2 separate regions of the Homo sapiens genome follow, and region 2 is linked to region 1. The links are contacts of gene promoters, found by promoter capture Hi-C in human tissues and cell types (Jung and others, 2019). All regions are on one chromosome and are shown on one strand. Each heading gives the region's core, a stretch centred on a gene start or on the middle of the fragment in contact. The rest is flanking DNA. Distances are from core to core; before and after follow the strand shown.

Evidence for each region. Contacts are between HindIII fragments. The study calls those that stand out against the background at their distance.
Region 2: a contact is called between a fragment that was not itself captured here and the fragment with the promoter of EMC7 in region 1, in 1 of the 25 tissues and cell types used here (H1 embryonic stem cells).

What each region holds. Positions count from the first base shown.
Region 1 is chr15:34,099,912-34,103,436 of GRCh38, reverse strand. EMC7 (ER membrane protein complex subunit 7) reads left to right here and starts at 1,575. Exons shown (of 5, transcript NM_020154.3): 1 at 1,575-1,833. The coding sequence starts at 1,598. PGBD4 (piggyBac transposable element derived 4) reads right to left here and starts at 1,354. Exons shown (of 1, transcript NM_152595.5): 1 at 1-1,354. The coding sequence starts at 905. RefSeq lists enhancers at 1,145-1,234, 1,265-1,964, 1,574-2,431. The HindIII fragment of the contact is 11,801 bases long and covers 1-3,525 here.
Region 2 is chr15:34,292,117-34,295,251 of GRCh38, reverse strand. The region is part of intron 2 of SLC12A6 (solute carrier family 12 member 6); the gene reads left to right. Among named protein-coding and RNA genes, the nearest start is that of SLC12A6, 44 kb to the left of the region's middle. RefSeq lists a silencer at 1,841-2,060. The HindIII fragment of the contact is 4,166 bases long and covers 1-3,135 here.

The sequences.
Region 1 (3,525 bases), core at 326-2,825:
TTCAAATTCATGCCAGGCCCTGTGTGAACAAGCGCATTCCACACATAACCAGACTGACTTTCACAAAGTACATATAGCTTCAGACCAAATCGTACTCGTTTTGTCGGGAGGTACTGCTTCATAGCTAATGGCCCCTTGAACAGCATCAGTGATTCATCAACTGCAATGTTTCTGTTTGGAGTATATACAGTGGAAAATTTATTTACAAGAAAGTCGAACACAGGTTTGATCTTCTGCAATGAAATCTGGGCCTTTGATTGACCAGCAGATATAGAAGAATTGTTGACAAAATGCAGGCACCGAAACAAAAGTAAAAATCTTTCACCAGTCATAATTTGCCTGAGATAAGGTGTATCCAAAAGAGGCCTTGTTGACCAAAACATCTCCAGCTCAGGTTTCTGCACAATACCTTGCAGTAACATTACTGCAAAAAAGACTTTGAGCTCGTCATTGTCAGTGTCTTTCCATTTATCCATTCGCGAAAATCCTTTCGGACCCGGTGGCTTTGAAGCCAACAAGGCAGCTTGGGCATTTGTTTCTCTAGTAATTTTTGAAACTAATTCCTCAGTAAAGAACAGTTCAAAATACTGCAATGGGTCAGTGATATCACTGACATCGACTTTTCTGCCAGGTGTGCCGGTAAAGTCATACCTTTGACGTGGAATCATAGCACGAGCTGACCATTTCATGGAGCGCCCTGAGTCACTTGATGTAGAGCTCTTTCCATCAGATTCTAAATGGGACAGAGGCCTGATCTTATCGGCTTCTAAAGCACTATCCGAAAAATTATCAGAATCATCTATTTCCGAAAAATCAGATTCATCAAATGAATCTTCAGCCAACAACTGTTCGAGACCGGTATTACTATCACGCATAGGAATGCTACGTTTTCTAGGATTTGACATTTCAGCGATCGAGAATTACTATATTTTGTAGATGGAAATCCCACTACTAAAAACAGAATGCTATAAACAGAATGATGTCTTTTGTTTCAAAAGTCAATATACCAGAACCATGCGAAAATAACAGAAGCGAGATATTTCGTGGCAAACTTTGGGAGTAAGGTTGGCACTGTAATCCACGAGTTATCTCGGCGTAAACGCTGCAGTCGCAGGCACAGCAGCGCGTAATCTCGGGGCTAAGGAGAAATGAGTTAAACGCACACAGACAGAAGAAGCCTTTCATCTCATACGTCTTGGGGAGTCTCTAGAAGTTTTTTGAAAGGTCTCTTCTGGATGGTGTTTCTCCCGAAGCCAGTCTCGTCATCTTTTACTCCCGTGAGGTCCTTGGCCTCCGTGGCTGCCGCAGCAACACACACTTGACTTTCACTTCATGGGCAGTCCCCTTCATAGGCACTTGACACAGGCTCTGTGCGCCGTCTTCCAATCCAGAGTGCCGGGAGTTAAGGGCAGTACTTCCGCCTTACTTCCGCCTCGCTAGTCGATCGGCCATGATCTCTTCCCTCTGGTTGGATCCCACAGCTTATGACAGAAACGGGCGCGCAGTGATGACAACATCAAGCCGCCAGCGGCGGCGGTGGCGGCCGGGAGACTGGGAGGGCTTCCGGGGCTGCCGGTCTGAGTGCAGAGCTGCTGTCATGGCGGCCGCTCTGTGGGGCTTCTTTCCCGTCCTGCTGCTGCTGCTGCTATCGGGGGATGTCCAGAGCTCGGAGGTGCCCGGGGCTGCTGCTGAGGGATCGGGAGGGAGTGGGGTCGGCATAGGAGATCGCTTCAAGATTGAGGGGCGTGCAGTTGTTCCAGGGGTGAAGCCTCAGGACTGGATCTCGGCGGCCCGAGTGCTGGTAGACGGAGAAGAGCACGTCGGTTTCCTTAAGTGAGCATCCTGAGGGCAGCGGGAAAAAGGCTGGGATGGAGGCCGGACAGGGACCCCACCAGGAGAGTTAAGTGTCAGGACGGGACAACGTCGCTGTCTCAGACTGAAGGGGAGGGTGCCGCTAACGGTCTATGCCGGGAGACCTTGGGAGGCAGTCGGATGCTTTCCCTTTCCTGGTCCTGTACCTCTGGAATGAGCATGGCAGGCGCTCACCCCCTGCCATGGTCAGAGCATGGAGTCAGTTATTTCCAACCTTATTTTGGCCCCATGTGGGGACGATCATTCCTGGGCCCTGGGGACAGGTGGACCCTTATTAGTCTCTTGTTGGATTCTTTTATATCTCATCTGGTTTCCCTAGAACCTAGTCGTTTTTTGCATTCACTTCAGTCTTTTGGTAGCTTGTTATTATGTAGAAAGATGCGACACAAGTGGGAATTCTCAAAACCCAAAGGGCTTCTAGTGACGACATAGACTGGGAGGCTAATGTTACTGCTTCTAAAATTAATAGGCTCTGAAATCCCTAATCAAAGCACTTTTTTTTTCTTTTTTTTTTTGCTTGGGGGTGGGATCGTTGTTCTTTTTTACAGTTGAATTCATCGAGAGATTTGCTATATCACACTTGTCATTTATGTGAGACTAGGGTTCCTCTACATTGCTTTCTTGCTTCTGTCCTTTCATGCTATTAGTGGAAGTGGGTTTTCTGTCTATATTAAAAGACAGGATGAATTTGTTAGCACTAGTTTTGCAGCAGCCTGCTTTTGAAATGTCTAGGCACGCGTATGTTGTTTTAAATCTTTCCACCCTTACTTGGAGGTGAAACTGTAAACTGAAAGCAAATAATTAGGAAGTATTTCCTTTGGTGGGTTCGTACACCAGCAAATGGTATCTGAAAATCAGACAACTTAAATGTAGACATTTAAATCCAAATCTGATTTACATATTTGTTCAGATCATCTAAGTGCCCTTGAGTGGTTATTCAACCTCAGATTAATAAATAGTGACAAATTTACAACCAGTATTTTACTGCTGTCTGTCATTAAGAATCTGGCATTAGGGCATTCGTTAGAGTTTACCCTAATTAATGATGTTTTAATGATAAAGTTCTCATTAAGCTTTAGGAATAAGCCTTAATTGACCATTTGGCCACTCTTCTGTATACAGTTCTTTTAAAAAGCATTTAATTTCTGTTTAAAAATAGTATATTAGAAACAAAGTAGGAAAACAACCCTTAATGTTTCATTGTATCTTTCTTTTTATTTTTTTGAGACAAGGTCTTTTTCTGTTACTCAGCCTGGAGTGCAGTGGCGAGATCATAGTTCATGGCAGCTTCGAACTTCTGTACTCAAGTGATCCTCCTGTCTCAGCCTCCTCAGTAGATAGGACTACAGGCGGACACCATCATGTCCAGCTAATTTTTTAATTTTTTGTAGAGACAGGGTCTTGCTATGTTGCCCAGTGTGGTCTCAAACTCCTGGCCTCAAGTGATATTTCTGCCTCAGCCTGTCACATTTTTGGGATTATAGGCGTGAGCCACGGTGCCTACCATTTTTCCAGCTTCTTTTGGAATCATATGACTTAGGTTTTTACTAGTAAAATACAACATGTAGTAGTTTGTATCCTGCCTTTTTCACTTAATATTTTTGAACAGCTTTTGATACCATTTCATGTTCTTTATTTGTATGTAGAAAGGTT
Region 2 (3,135 bases), core at 406-2,905, 190 kb before region 1:
TCTGCGCTCTGGGATAGTTGCACAGCTGTCATAGTGGGCTCTGTCTTCAGCATCATCCTGGAGGTTCCCTTTGCCTTTCCTGTAAAATGGAACAATCATGATAGTACTTACAGCATAGGATGAGATTGCTGTAAATGAGATAATACAGGTAAAACGTTTAGGTGTCTATCACATACATACCCTAATAAGTGCTAACTGTTGATAATTCTTTCTATTGTTGTTATGTCTACTAGGAGACTTTTATTGGTCCCAAAATTATTCATGACACTTGTATTTATTATAAATCCATAATTTAACCAAATATTACACAAATTGATGTAATATGAATAGGGAAAGTAGAGTTGTGTCTATAAAAGCTAACGTGGATTATTTAGCAGGTCATTAAACACTTATTTAAGGCTGGGTGTGGTGGCTCATGCCTGTAATCCTAGCACTTTGGGAGGGGAAGCAAAAGGATCTCTTGAGGCCACAAGTTAGAGACCAGCCTGGGTGATATATTTTGTCTCTACCAAATAAATTAGCCAGTTATAGTGGTGCACACCAGTAATCCTAGCTACTCAGGAGACTGAGGTGGGAGGATTGATTGAGCCCAGGAGTTGAAGATTACAGTAACCTAAGATTATGTCATTGAACTCAATCATGAGCAACAGAACAAGACCCTGTATCTTAAAAATAAAATTAAAAAAAAGGTATTTAGGGCCAGGTGTGGTGGCTCACAACTGTAATCCCATTACTTTGGGAGGCCAAGGTGGGTGAATCACGCGGTCAAGAGTTCGAGATCAGCCTGGCCAACATGGTGAAACCCCCTCTCTACTAAGAATACAAAAATTAGCCTGGCATTTTTGTATCACATTTTGGATCACAGGTGGTGAGTGCCTGTGATCCCACCTACTCAGGAGGCTGAGGCAGGAGAATTGCTTGAACCAGGGAGGTGGAGTTTGCAGTGAGCCGTGATCACACCACTGCACTCCAGCCTGGGTGACAGAGCAAGACTCCGTCTCAAGGTGGGGGTGGAAGGAAGTATTTAAATTAGCAGTGGACAAGAGACCTGTAAAAGAGTTGGGAGTGGGGCAATGACAAAGCTTTGAAAAGAATATAGATATTGCTTCATAAGTATCTTTAAACCAAAGTTGGAAATCACAGACTTATGCCTTATGGGTGTAATTTACACAAGAAAGAAAATGAATAAATTCAATCTGCATAGTTGTATCGCTTTTACAAAATGATTGGTGAATTAATATACATTTGCAAGTTTATATACTTTTATGTTGAAATATTAATGTGTGAGCCATTTTTGTGTGTGTGTGATTCTCTATTTCAACCAGCTTTTAAAATTACCTATCAGCCCTGGCTGGGCATGGTGGTTCACACCTCTAATCCCAACACTTTGGAGGCTGAGACAGGAGGATCACTTGAGAACAGGAGTTTGTGGCCAGCCTGGGCAACATAGGGAGACCTTGTCTCTACAAAAAAACATTTTTTTAATTAGCAAGGTGTGACGGCACATGCCTGTAGTCCCAGCTACTGGGAAGGCTTAGGCCAGGGGATTACTTGGACCTGGGAGGTTTAGGCTGCAGTGAACTGAGATTGTGCCATTGTACTCCTGCCTAGGCCTCAGAGCGAGACTTTGTCTCAAAAAAATGAAATAGGCTAGGCGCGATGGCTCATGCCTGTAATCCCAGCACTTTGGGAGGCCAAGGCAGACAGGTCATCTGAGGTCGGGATTTCGAGACCAGCCTAGCCAACATGGCAAAACCCCGTCTCTACTAAAAATACAAAAATTAGCTGGATGTGGCAGTGGGCACCTGTAATCTCAGCTACTCGGGAGGTGAGGCAGGAGAATTGCTTGAACCCAGGAGGTGGAGGTTGCAGAGATCTGAGTTTGCACCACTGCACTCCAGCCTGGGCAACAGAGTGAGACTCTGTCTCAAAAATAAATTAATTAATTAAATAAAATAAAAACCTATCAGTCCTGACAGCAATAGATAGAATTACTTTTACTACATTTTACTAATTTCCCTGTTTTACCTAATTGCTGTATCCTTAAAGCCATATCAGAACTCAATTAAGATTTTTTAAAAAACACGTATCTTAAGGAGTCGCTTCCAAGATGGCTGAATAGGAACAGCTCTGGTCTACAGCTCCCAGCAAGATTGACACAGAAGATGGGTGATTTCTGCATTTCCAACTGAGGTACCTGGTTCATCTCATTGGGACTGGTTGGACAGTGGGTGCAGCCCACGGAGGGTGAGCCAAAGCAGGGTGGGGCATTGCTTCACCCAGGAAGCACAAGGGGTCGGGGGATTTCCCTTTCCTAGCCAAGGGAAGCCGTGAGTGACTGTGCTTGGAGGAGTGGTACACTCCTGCCCAAATACTGCGCTTTTCCCACAGTCTTCACAACCATCAGACCAGGAGATCCCTTCCCATGCCTGGCTCAGCAGGTCCCACACCCACGGAGCCTTGCTAGCTGCTAGCACAGCAGTCTGAGATTGACCTGGGACGTGGGAGCTTGGTGGGGCAAGGGGCGTCTGCCATTGGTGAGGCTTGAGTAGGCAGTTCTGTGCTCACTTGGAGTAAACAAAGTGGCAGGGAACCGCGAACTGGGCAGAGCACACCACAGCTCAGCAAGGCCTACTGCTTCTCTAGATTCCACCTCTGGGGGCAGGGCATATCTGAACAAAAGGCAGCAGACAGCTTCTCCAGACTTAAACGTCCCTCCTGGACAGCTCTGAAGAGAGCAGTGGTTCTCCCAGCGTGATGTTTGAGCTCTAAGAATGGACACACTGCCTCCTCAAGTGGTTCCCTGACCCCTGTGTAGCCTGACTAGGAGACATCTCCCAGTAGGGGCCGACAGACACCTCATACAAGCAGGTTCCCCTCTGAGACGAAGCTTCCAGAGGAAGGATCAGGCAGCAATATTTGCTGTTCTGCAGCCTCTGCTGGTGATACCCAGGCAAACAGGGTCTGGAGTGGACCTCCAGTAAACTCCAACAGACCTGCAGCTGAGTGGCCTGTCTGTTAGAAGGAAAACTAGCAAACAGAAAGGAATAGCATCAACATCAACAAAAAGGACATCCACACCAAAACCCCATCTGTAAGTCACCAACATCAAAGACTAAAGGTAGATAAAACCAC